Linked DNA regions of Homo sapiens: all the other regions are linked to region 3. Evidence: promoter capture Hi-C in 16 types of primary human blood cells and fetal thymus (Javierre and others, 2016). All regions are on one chromosome and are shown on one strand. The core of a region is centred on a gene start or on the middle of the fragment in contact, and the rest is flanking DNA. Distances in the headings are between cores, read along the strand shown.

Region 1 (3,280 bases), core at 541-3,040, 610 kb before region 3:
GTGGGCTATTTCCAGCTTAGCCAACGCTGGTAGTCAGGTTCCTGTCTTAGTGACTTAGGATCCTAGCAATTGCTGCAGCACAGTCATCCACTATAACCTTTGACTGCTGATAATCTCTGTATTCCAGACTGTTTTGCAGCTGGTCACATGACTGACAAGTCCATTCATCAGGAATGTTCTTCCTTCACCCGAGGCCAGCCATCCACTTCAGCTTTTAGACATGAATTAAGCAGAACAGAGGTTTTTAAAGTAAATGCTTTAAGATATGCTAGTCTTCTGATTTCCCCCAACCCTAAAAAATAATTGGACAAAAGCAATACCCTGTTGGGTTGAGAATTTATAAGGGAGGGCTTCTTTGAGATGTACAGTTGTTTTGAGACTGAAATGGCAGTCGATAAGTTGTGTTCGTGTTGAAATAACAATGTAATTATGTGAAGCTGCTTATCTTTAGTATCTTCAGGCAGAAAAAATGTTTAGAAAACCTCACTGAGTCCCCAAAGTTTTCCAGGGATTGTCTGAGACGCCTTGGAATGCTAGCAGAATCCACACAGGCTGATTAGAGGGGAAGCTTTCAGCACTCTTAAAAACTCTCACGTTATTTTCTCCCTTGGGAAGCTGCTGAAGAACATGTTGTATTGGGAGTGCAAAGCCGCTAGGTCAATGGAATCATTTCTTTGTGACTTGGGGATTTCTCAGAGCCAGCAATGTTATCCAAGCTTCATCCCTGTGACTGAGGAGAATTGCATCAGCTGCTCACGGGATACCAGATCTCAGTACGACATCTATTTAAGCAATGCCCTGCATGGCAGATGTCAGAGTGCAGTTACTGGATGCACGTGTGACTGAGTACAGTGAAGCCTGGTTTATTCTCTTGGGCTTACTAGCAAGTTTCAAAAAATATTTGGAAAAAAAGTTGTGTTACAGTAATATGACTGTCAGGAAGAAAATTAGAATTATCTTTGTGTCCTATGTGTATAAAAGTTAGTTGTATGTGGTTCTTTGTGCATATTTGTAAAAATGCATGTGACATAGATGCAAAAAAGATAGGCAGTAGTGAACAGGTGTCTTCAGCTTAATGTCAAGCAACAATTTTTGTCCCAGCTCTGCTTCTATCTAACTCTGTGTCTTGAAATCACCACTTAGTGTTTCTTGTCCTTAATTATCTTGAATAGAAACACAGGGGTTTGAAATCTATGGAGTCATTTCCTTCTTTTTTAAAAATTCCTAGGTTACAGGAAATGAAATTAAGCAACAATCTTATTTCAAAAGCATCTTGAACAAGAAAACTTTCAAAAGAAATAAATGAATGATATTCAAATAATAGTATTTTTTAGAAAAAGTATTAATTTAGGATTTAAGAAAAACTCTGGTGATTTTTTTCCTTTTGGCCAAGGCTATATCCACATACATCTGGATAAAAGTGAAAAAGAAAATATGCCAATCACCCAGATGGTTCTAAGTGTTTGATATCTGTCATCATGCAGGCCAAACACCTGGGTGATTGTGTTCATTTTCACCCTTCAGCCAGATGTTTTGAAACCACGGAGGTATGTCTTACATAAAAAAAAATTAAGCAGAATGGGGTGCAGTAAGAGGTAGAAAAAGAAGAAAATCAGCAATTTTTGAGCACCTACTCCCTGTCAGACACTTTCTTTCGTATTTTAATCCTCATAAGAACTCCATGAGGCATTATCTCCAACTTATAGATAAGGAAACTGAGGCTTGGAAATCTAAATTATTTGCCAATGTCACATATCTAAGAAGTAGTAAAGCTAGGATTTGAATTCTGTATTATAGAAAAAAATATTAGAAATAAATGCAATTAAGTTACAGGTAATGAAATTAGAGCTGAGAAAGAGTGCCTGCGTAAATAACACATACATGTAGATATTGAAACAGACGTAACTACTGCTACTGTTATTCATCTTAAGAACTTTTTACTCCAAGTCTATAACAAATGCCCATAGAAGGAGTAAGCAAAACCAGCCTAGAAGAACTGGCCCACTGTTGGACAGGTCTCTTGGTTGTGCCATGTATTTCTTTGGCTCCAACCACGTAGTAAAATTGAACACAATTGTCTCATTAATTGTTTTACCTCCCTTAAGTTAGGAATCTTGGATGATTTTGTAAAACTACCTAGTTTATTATACAAGTGTATGTAGAATAGCGTGCAAATATATGTGTGATGATTTACTAGGAAGAAGATTCTGAATATTTGATTTTATAACTCATTGTAAATAACCTGGGGGGTAAACTTCCCTGTATACAGCAGAAGGCAAGTTGGCCCATCCCAAGGTTCTCAACAATGGCTTTATCTTTGGGGAAATAATGAATCAGACTATTCCTCCATTATATGCCAAGAAACATAAGTTCCTGAGCCCACATGGAAAGGGAACTGAAAGCACCCTTTGCACGACTCTGCTTATATGGTAATACTGCTGACTCACATCCAGGGCAAAAATGCCCTGCTCTTACCCAGACAGCAAGCACAGGAGAAGAGAATAACTCTTATGAGGTTACTTTACCTGGCTTCCCCACTGTTTTGTAACAATGCAGGTATGTCTTACATTAAAAAAATTAAGCAGAATGGGATGCAGTAAGACAAAAGATGATCCTGAAGATGATCATGGGTCTTGAATATGATTGTGATGGGAGGTCTGGTCCTAAGTTTACTTACCCCAGTTGCTGACCTGCAAGTTAGAGCACTGGGAAGAACATTCACTTTTTAAGTAAATATAAGGATGAGAATTTACAGAGTAAGGAAATGGGGTCGAAGGAGGGCAGATGAGTGTATAAATGTTAGTTCCAGAATATGAAGGAACGGGTTGGAGATAATGCATTCTTTGGAAATAGCAAATGCTGTTGAAGCTTTTCAAAAAAGGAAATAAATCATAAAAGAATTTGGAATGCTTTTTATGGGTTGAAGTAGAAGAAAATTGAACATCAATATGATTCTGGAAAGAAATTTTGTGTCACTGCATTATTTAAATGTTAGGGGAAAATGATCAAAGCAGCCAACATTCAAAAAGGAATAATCTCTTTGGAAAACTTAATACACACATATCTGCAAATATTTAGGGGACAAGGAAAGACTATGGAGGAAATTTTGTGTCTATATAGTTAGACATTTTCTGATCTAGACCTACCCGGAGGCATATGCTGAAAACCTTCAATGTTTAAGCTCAGTTCTTCCCTGAACCATTTCAAACCAAATCTGAGCATTCTTTTAGAAGTCCCATTCTCTCTAGTAGGTGGAGTCTTGAATTTTTTTTCACATTCT
Region 2 (3,422 bases), core at 683-3,182, 900 kb before region 3:
ACTTTTTTCCTTTATCCAAGGTAGGCAAGAATCATCTACTTAGCATTTTCATGATATTCCCACCTTGGGTTTCAAATCTTTTTCATGAACGCTGTAAGCAGTTCATATCAATTGCTTGGAGTTATCATATGGAATGAAACTATTCGACATTCCACACTTAACCCACTGGTTTTTCAGATGAGAAAACTGAGACTCATGGAGGAAGGTAGGAAACTAATTATAAGCATGTTCTATTTTCAAGGTACTCTGACAGGTATTTGGCTTGTGTTCCTTCAAAAAATATCGTTAACATTCCCATTGGACAGATGATGAAACCGAGTCTCAGAGACGATAAGCAATATGCACAAGCTTATAGTCCTCACTAGCTACAGATGCACAATTGCCATACGATTCTATTGACCCTATCTAGAAAATTAATATATTTTGCTCTACCACCAAACTATAAGGTAATGTTATTCTTTCTCTGAAGAAATTAATGTATGATGTTAAAAGAATCCTTCTTGGGTCAATGACAGCCACTCATCTCCCTGTGAACCAGAGAAACAGACTTATAAATAATAAAACACTATGCATAGCAGCCACCTGGCACCTAAATATTAATAGTGTGTATGTGAAACACTTTTATATAACCACATTAAAGGCATTAAATAAATGTCAAGGCTTGAAAAATACCACTTTGGGTCACTGCTGGCCACTAAACTCTACAGTCTGACTATTAAAGCAGTGATTGTTTTTTTTTTAAGACATTCGCTTTTCTGGGCTTTTCTTTCCAGGAAAAATTGTATCTTTCTGAACCATAAGGAGAGCAGTTTGAAGCTTAAAATTTGTAAACATAATTACTATTTATGAAGTTTGAGCCATAGTTACTCCTAACCATTTCCACTCCTTTTCTCCCAACTCAGTGTTTTCAATCTCTCCACAACCTGGGCAACTCAGTCTGGGAAATTCTCCACAGTGCAGAGCAGAACCAGGGCCCTCTGTGTGCATAGAGGACAGGCTTTTACCATCAGTGATGAAGCATTTGTTCCTTTCTCCAGCTCCTTCTGGGAAAATGGACTTCCCAAGAGGGAAGCTTTTCTGATTAGGAAAGTTTTTCTGATTCCCTCTTCCTAGATAAATCATATTGTGAATTATTTTGTTGAATTCCTTTCCATTTGTTTTCTATTTAGTTCTTGCTTCATTCCCTGTAGATCTCATACATCCCTCTGAATAGTAAATTCTAATCTGTTTTCAAAATAAACATGCAATTGAAGAAAGAAATATTAGGAGGAAGGACAAGAAGGAAAGAATCCAACTAATCTTGATTATATATTTAAAGCATTTTTAGGAGCTATATCTTTCTCCACAGCTCTACTCTCACATCAATATATTATCTGACTTCTGTAAAAACAAAGGCAAACAGATACAATTTTTTTTCTAGTTAATTTTAAGCAAAATGCAGAACATGTCATCTACACACCCCTGGACCTTGGCCGATTTCCAGAACTCTAGATCTGTTTCCAGAAGCTTCTGCTGCTTTGTCAGTACAATTTCGGCTAGACTGACCTTATGATCTCCAGCATCATTTTCTAGTCATTCTTTTCCAAGCAAAGCCATAAGGATGGGAAGAAAATTCTCTGGAATGTGACAAAACTGGCACAATGAGAACCTTATAAGGTTTGTGCTGGCAGCAATGCAAAAATCACACTGGCTAGGAGAATTAACCATACCATGTGTAGTTTCATGGTAGGAACTTATGGTTCTCAGTAATTAATGTCCATGGTATAATCAAAAGCATATCATAATTTTATCCATGTTCTAATAGGAGATATATTGCTTTAAATATAATCGTATGTAATAGCCTAATTTTCTAGGCAACTTTTTGAGCTCTTCTACATTTTAGGACTAGAAAAATAGTGCCAGCTTCTGACAAATATGAAAAAAACATGTTTACAATGGATTTTAACATATTTTGTTTCCTTTAAATAACATTTATCCTGAAAAGTATTTATTAGTGCCATGTATATTTACGATAAGAAAAAAATAAAAGTACCCCTATTCTGATTGCTAAGATACAACCACTGATAACATTTTAGTTATTTCCTTCTAGCATTTTTCTGCACATTTAATTACATATAAATAATCACATAATTAGAGAACACTGTACAATTTGCTTCATCCTTTTTCACTTATGTGATAATAGCTATTTCCCTATATCCTATTTGATGTTAAAATAATGAATCTCTTTGAGGAGAAAAGAAGTTAGTTTTTGAGAGGCACCATTAAGTAGTTGCCTCATTATTAATTCTTTTTAAATTAATGAGAATTATTTATACTTATAGTTTGTGCACTTTTTGTTCTGTATATTACACTTCAATAAAAAGCTTATTAAATACAAAATCTCAAATTAATTAAAATGTGATTCACCATGACTACGTAACATTCCATCATGCATCTTAACTATGATTAATTAGGCCATTCTCCCATCCTTAGACATTTAGTTTGTTTTCAGTGTCTAATACAAATAACACTGCTATAAATACACTGGTATTAAATATTCCTCTGTATCACATTCACTTAGGGTAGAGTTCTAGCATTTTTTGCCTCTTTCTTGAGAAGAAATGCATTATAATGAGGGAGAACGATTAATGTAATACATTTTCTGCAATGTATTTATTGCTGGGGTAAACTGGTAGAACTCTTAAATTCCTATAATTATAGTCTGAAAGAGAAGGTGGGACTGCAAAATCCTGAGCTGGGCCCCACATGTGAACCAAGTTTCACCTATATGTGAAACTTGTACGTGTAGGGGAGATATTCTTCATCCCAGTAAAATGAACAGTTGTCTGTTAAATTCAATTGAGTAAACCATTTTTGAGCACCAAGTACATGGCAGGACTCTCCTAGACACTAGATACAGAGATGCGAAAGGTACAGCTCTGTACTTGTTTAGGAATAAGAGTTGACCCCTGAGGAAGAGTCTCAAACCACTGTGGACATGAATGTTCCTCCTCATTTCACAATCCCTTTATCTGTACATTGGGATAATAATACTTAACCTCAGTGGCTTGTGGTGAGAATTAAGTCAGTGTTTACAGAGCACTAGCCAAGGGTGCTATTCAAAATATTTAACAATCCATATAAACTGGCACCAATCAATCAGAAGAAATCCTGGTTTGGACAAAATGGAGGCAGTCGGTAAAGAACTGTTCTCCGACCTGATGCCTTCTGGCCAAGTACTTTGTGCCCTTGTGTAATATAGGTACTGACGATCATTAGTTTTTCTTTCTTTATTCCTTTTGATTTCCTCAGGTAAAATAAAATATCCTCAAACTCATATTTGCTTTTGAATGAAATTATTTTGCATTCACAGTATTTGGAGAAAGCAACCTCAGAGATATGGTTTGTGATCAAACACTCTTCCTTTCATTTTTACCCAATAG
Region 3 (2,973 bases), core at 392-2,891:
CTGGGCTAAGATATTTTAGTTACTTTGTCAGTTGTTAGTTCCCTGGGCAGCGATGAAAACTGCCCCCAGGTAAGTCTGTTGGGTCTCGCCGCTTTTCTATTTGACCGTCTGGCTTAAAGTGATACAAATCGTGTTTCTAAAAAGTATAAAACCAGTGTTTTATTTCATAACATTATTCCTAAGGTCTTAGGACAATTCTCAAAGTCGAAAAAAATGACCTTACTTCTACCAGCATTACTTAAAATGCCTTACGAGCTACGCCCAAATATCGTCAAATGAACAGGTTTCCACAAAAGGAACACGTTCTAAAAACTCCTTAACAATCACCAAGACCAACTAACTCGTGTCAACGTAAATACTGCCTTTGTGGTGCGGTCACTAGAAACCCCAAAGTGCAGCAGGTCACTATGGACCAGGGTTTCAGATCCCCAAATAAAGCAAAGGAATGGGTCCCCGGACCACAACCTCCGACTCGATTCGTCGCCCGCCCACCGCCTGCAGCGCAGTCCAGCGGCGCCCACACAGACTCGTGCTACAGTCCCCTCGCCCAAGTTCACTGGCTGTTTTTAAAAGCTTAGTCCCCCGTAAAGTCCTCCAAAGCCCGAGTCCACCTCAACGCGCGAGCTGCTGAGAGGGGCTACGGGCACCCCGGGCGGGGATGCCGCACCACAACGGGCACTTGAGGGGCCGCACGGGGCCTCGCACTTACAGGTCCCGGCCCTGCCCACCCCCCGGCGGCCTTGCCCGGCCCAGCGCCCGCGCTCCGTGCCCAGGGCGCGGGGCTGGGCGCTCGCAGTGGCCGTGGCGAGGGGCCGCTCCCGGCTCCCACGCCGCCCCGCGACGCCCGCTGCAACTCCGGGCCACTTCTCCAAGGGACGGGGATGTGCGGAGGTTAACTCAAGCCGCTAATTGTCCGCAACAAAACAAAACAAAGGCATTTCGGGCCAGAGAGAAAGCTCGAGAAAGCGACCGAGACATGTACCTGAGTGAGACAGATGGGAGAATACATCATGACTTCGCCTTAAAACGCACTTTCCGGGAGATGCCCAAGAAAATCTTCGAGAAGCAAGAATTTCATCTATTCATTTTACAGTCATCTGAGCCCCGCGATGCGATCAATCAGGACGGGGCTCTGCGCTGGATCACCGCAACTTCACAACAAACCCAGTCCTCCTTAAATAGCCAAAGATTCAAGTTCACTCGGCGTGCTAGATTTCCAGGGGTGAAATCCAATCTACACTTTTAACCCTCTTGCAGTCCGAGCGCGCTGGCCGTGCTTGCCGAGGCCGCCGCCGCCGCCGGTGTTGGCTGCTTTTCGCCTGGGTTTGGGGATTTGTTTTCTATTTTGCAGTTGTTGTTGTTGTTGGGGTGTAGGGGGTGCGCGAAGGTTCGGTGTGGGTTGGATTGGGGTGGTGGTTGGTGGTAAAATGCTTTTTCAAAAAAGGCGGGGAGGGGGGCGCGGGAGGGCGCAGGAGGGCGAGCGGGCGGGCGGGAGGGAGAGCGGGGAGAATGTGTCACCGCGCTGGGAAAGTTCAAGGTTACAGCCCCAAGCACTGCGGCAGGATCCCGGAGTGGTGATCGCAGGCGAAACTTTGCCGCGAGCCGACCATGTGTGTGCGCGAGGGGCAGCGTGAGCGAGTGCGCGCGGGTGGCGGGGCGCGCGCGGGAGAGGGCCGGGGTGGGGGCGGGGTGGGATGGGGGAGAAGGGAGAGGCCGGGGTGAGGGAGGGGGCGCGAGCGCTGATCTCTGGGGCGGAAGAGGCTCGCGGCGCGTGGTCCCCGGCAGCAGCAGCCGCCGCCGCCCGCGCCGGGTCTTCGGCGCCCGGCCGCCCGCCCGCCCGCCTCGCCCCGCGTCTGACCCGGCCGAGCGTGGAGGCTGCTGTTGCCGCCGCTGCCCAGAGCCCAGGGGTATCAAAACGATCTCCTGAAAAATTCCAAACGATAAATCCCGCTCTCCCGCTCGGCTCCAAACTCCTCTCTTTTCTGCTCTAGGCTCTTTTTTTTCCCTCCCTCTCTTGCTTTCTTTCGTTGCAAAACTTGGAAGTTGAAAAATTCACCGGTTCCACCCTCTGGACCCCGCTCGAGCTCTCTCCAAATCAGACTTAAGGATTGTTTTATTATTTAATTACACAATCATCGCTTTACTCCTCCTCCTGCAAACGCGCATTCCTTTTGCACCAGCCTCTCCACACCCCCCGCCCCCCCACCTTCCTCCTCCTCCTCCTTCTCCTTCTCTCCCCCCACCTCTCCCTCATTTGTTAAAGGTATCCTACCGGTGCTACAGAACCATGACTTTTTTTTTTTTTCCAAAATAGCTCTTCTTTCCGCTGCCCTCCCCACACCAGCACACACATACACACCCCCGAAAACCCGCCCTGGAAGAGGTATTTCGGTGCTCGCTGCGGACTCTTTTAAGCCGCGGGAACATCCGAGTGGGAGAAGCACCGAAACCGTCTGAGCCCGAGAAAGGAACGAGTGGAAAATTCCCTCACACCCAGGCCGCCCCCAGGCCGGGGCTGGGGCGCGGACACTCGCACCCGGGGCGGGCTCAGTCCGCGGAGCCTGCGGCTGCCGGGAAAAGGGGGAGGCCGAGCAGGCGGGGACCTGAGCGAACTTGGGCTCAAGTAGTTGGGGCGCGCCGGCGTGGACCAGGGGGGTGCGGCGCCCAGCCCCCGACGGCCCCGCCCGGAGCCCGGGTTCGCGGATAGGGAGGGGGTGCGGGTTCGTCCCGGGTCTGCCCACCAGGGGCCCGCACCCGAGGCAGTCGCGGCGCGCGGCGCTTCGCCGCGGTTTGCCGCCCTCCCCGGGGGTGCCCCGTGCACGTGGCCTCGCTCTGAGCGGGAGGACCGGGCCGAGCCGCCGCCGCCGCCTCTTGCTCCCTCCACCTCCTCCCCGCGCCCGGCTTCGCTCTCCTCCTCCTCCTCCTGCAGCCCCGCTGGCTGGCTCCCAATCCCCACCCCCCGGGGCCCGGGGC
Region 4 (3,208 bases), core at 63-2,562, 880 kb before region 3:
GTCTGTGGGATCCTAGCACATCAATCAATCCATTAAGTAAGTAAATAAGGCAATAACTAAACAATAAATCATTTTGAATTTCACGCATGCACAAATCTTTTGATACATAAATGACAAGGTTTAGGTTCGGAGGCTACCACCTCTGTTCCAGTAGTTATCATACAAGATAAAGAGTTGTTTTTAAACTGTGGTGCATTGCTCATTCTGGTCCCCACATGATGGGGCTTCTTTCACCCCTTGGGTGGTGGTGTGTGTATGATGCACGGCCTGGGAGTTGTTTGTGTGTGTGTGTGGTGTGTAGCGGGGGCCATGCTGTTAGGGGGAAGCCTACCACACATTTCTGCCATCGCAGACGGTGGGCAAACAGCTGTCTCCACAGCTGAGACCACTGGAGCTGCTTGCGCTGCTCCAGTAACTCGAGAGCACACGGCTGGTCCCTGGATGGCACAGAGCACTGTGCCTGCAGCAAAGTGCCTGAGCTTTCCTGGGGCTGAGCGGGCGGGGTCTTTGCCACCAGACACAATAAGCATGTGAAATGGGGTTCATGAATTATTCATCCTTGGTGTCCTATGAAACAAAGAAATGATATGTTTGCTGGTAGATAACTGTGTTGTGGCATTTGTAAATCTTTTTGAATTTGGAGTTGATCATGTTTCTTGTGTTGGTGGGGAAATGTGTGTGTGTGTGTGTGTGCGTGCGTGTGTGTGCGTGTGTGTTTTTTCCCTAAAATAAAAATTTGGGAGTTCAACACAATAATCTTACAGCAAAGGTCTTCCATGAAATATTGCATGGATTATACTATTTTGGCTCATGATTTACGGATTTTAAAAATCTCATTCAGTGAAAAGGGATGTTAAAATGGTTTCACTGCAATAAACTACAGCAAGATACCAGGTTCTCAAGGAGTTTATTTTTCTCCTTAGTAGGCATCCAGCCCACTTTTGTTAATGCAAGTTTCATTACTGTGGACTAGAGAACAGTGGTGCCTTCAGCATGACACTACAGCATCGGGAGGAATGATTCTTCACTTTCACTAAAATATTAGTAAAAATGATACTTTGGCGAATTGAGCCCTAAATTGTGTTAGTGACAGTTAAATACCCACTAATTTAACACCAGTTAAACTGGCAATAAAATGACCCCCAACTGAGTTAAGCCACCATCCTATTCCTGCACAATAGCTCCAGCCCTAATGCCAGTGATCTATAAAGCCACTGGGTAGAGTTTATGCATTTGCATAACAAATATTTCTGGAGTGTTGTATAAAGTAGCTAGCTACTCAAACTTATCATAATTGTTATTTATAATTATCATCTGCATATTCCTTTCATTTATTCTTTAATATCTCAAAGAAAATAAAATGATTTAATAGTTCTTCATTATCTTTGAAACACAACCTGGTGAAACATATCATGGTAATGTTCACTGTCATCTCTTCAATAATTATCTCAGGTCTGTCTTCCAGTAGTCACTCATGCTTTCTCCATCACACTTTTTTTTTTGCAGTATCTCCTCGCAGTCTCCCTACCTTTCAGGTTGCCTGTGAAGTACTGTGTATCCATAAACCTCCCACAATCTGATATGTTTGGCAGAGAAAATCAGGGAAAAGGCACGTTGATTGTGCTGAAAGAAAAAAAACAAGCAAAAACAAAATATGGATCTGCCAATTACATGCTGGAGTGAAAATACAATTCCTTCTTGCTTTCAGGTGAGGGAGTTGGCAGGTGGGGTGTGAATTGGTAGGTAGTAGGACTTTCAGTAAAAAGAAGTGTAGCAAATGCTGTATGATGGGTGTTTTTTGGATTTTTTGTTGTTATTTGTTTCCTTAAGCCCCAATAGTGTACCAGATAGTAGACTCAAGATATATATATATATATATATATATATATATATATATATATATATGCACACACACACACACACACACACACACACACACACACGTAATGATTACCTGTCTTTACCTTGGACATGTAGGATTAATTAAGATTACAAATAAAATTATAATAGGACATAAATTGCTTCTTACCTTTTTGAAAGAAAATAGATATCCAGTGGAGGTAAATGGTAACAATGTCCTGGAACCAATGAGATAATCATTAGGCATAGAAGTGACAACCTTAAGAGGAACAAAACAGAGACAGAGCCCTAAAGGACTTAGGCAGAGTTTAATGGAAATTTTCCTGATTTCTCATTCACTGCTTGCATCACCTCTACTTCCTCCTTGTGTACTTTGTTTTAGTGTGAGACAGCGGAAGTGGCTAATAATATTTCCTCCCCTCAGCCAGGATGCTTTTTCAGCTTCAGTTGGTCATTGAAAGAGCCCATATTGCTATGATTTTCTGGAATATTATCACTTGGTCCTCCAAAATTTTGTTTTTAGTATATAGAAAAAAATCCTTTATGGGAATAACAGGCAAATTAATGTTTCTAATTATGTATATTATTCCGTTTATATATCTGAGAACTAGGGCTGGGCACGGTGACTCACGCCTGCAATCTCAGCACTTTGGGAGGCTGAGGTGGGTGGATCACTTGGGTCAGGAGTTTGAGACCAGCCTGGGCAATGTGGTGAAACCCCGTCTCTACTAAAAATACAAAAATCAGCTGGGTGCGATGGCGGGCGCCTGTAATCCCAGCTACTTGGGAGGCTGAGGCATGAGAATTGCTTGAACCCAGGAGGCAGAAGTTACAGTGAGCCAAGATCATGGCACTGCACTCCAGCCTGGGAGACAGAGTGAGACTCCATCTCAAAATAAATAAATAAATAAATAAATAAATAAATAAATAAATAAAATAAATATGTGAGAACTACAAGGACATTTAAGTAAAAGGTATTTAAGGATATATGCTATAATAGCAATCAAAGAGAAGAATCAGCAGGAAATTAATCAACAATTTATAAAATTGATAGTCTATGTACGGTTAAGAAAACCCAGGATCTTTGGATCACAGACACTTGGATTTGAATCCTGTCTGTGCTACATTTGTGCTACAATGACATTTAACCTTCCTAAATATGTGTCCTTATCTGTAAAATGGGGACAGAAATACATAGAATATTTTTTAAAAATCAGAACTAGTGATCTACTATTTGTGAAGCATGCATGGTAATCTGTAACCCTCTAAAGACGTTAAAATCACCTGGAGAGCTTTGAAAATCTGTTGATGCCCTGTTACCATCTCCGACCAATTACATTCAAGTCTC

Evidence for each region. The method cuts DNA at HindIII sites, captures the fragments that hold promoters and counts their contacts. A CHiCAGO score of 5 or more calls a contact.
Region 1: a contact is called between a fragment that was not itself captured here and the fragment with the promoter of NFIB in region 3, in 1 of 17 cell types (endothelial precursors). The highest score is 6.7, in endothelial precursors.
Region 2: a fragment that was not itself captured here is called in contact with the fragment with the promoter of NFIB in region 3 in 1 of 17 cell types (M1 macrophages); the score reaches 5.7 in M1 macrophages.
Region 4: a fragment that was not itself captured here is called in contact with the fragment with the promoter of NFIB in region 3 in 2 of 17 cell types (M2 macrophages and endothelial precursors); the score reaches 7.7 in M2 macrophages.

What each region holds. Positions count from the first base shown.
Region 1 is chr9:13,705,453-13,708,732 of GRCh38, forward strand. No RefSeq gene overlaps it. Among named protein-coding and RNA genes, the nearest start is that of LINC00583, 220 kb to the right of the region's middle. The HindIII fragment of the contact is 2,152 bases long and covers 715-2,866 here.
Region 2 is chr9:13,410,999-13,414,420 of GRCh38, forward strand. All of the region lies in intron 2 of LINC01235 (long intergenic non-protein coding RNA 1235), which reads right to left. Among named protein-coding and RNA genes, the nearest start is that of LINC01235, 19 kb to the right of the region's middle. The HindIII fragment of the contact is 857 bases long and covers 1,505-2,361 here.
Region 3 is chr9:14,312,500-14,315,472 of GRCh38, forward strand. It overlaps NFIB (nuclear factor I B), which reads right to left and starts at 1,642. Exons shown (of 11, transcript NM_001190737.2): 1 at 983-1,642. The coding sequence starts at 1,012. RefSeq lists a silencer at 1,051-1,345. The HindIII fragment of the contact is 4,177 bases long and covers 572-2,973 here.
Region 4 is chr9:13,430,872-13,434,079 of GRCh38, forward strand. LINC01235 (long intergenic non-protein coding RNA 1235) reads right to left here and starts at 458. Exons shown (of 3, transcript NR_033863.1): 1 at 332-458. The HindIII fragment of the contact is 5,522 bases long and covers 1-3,208 here.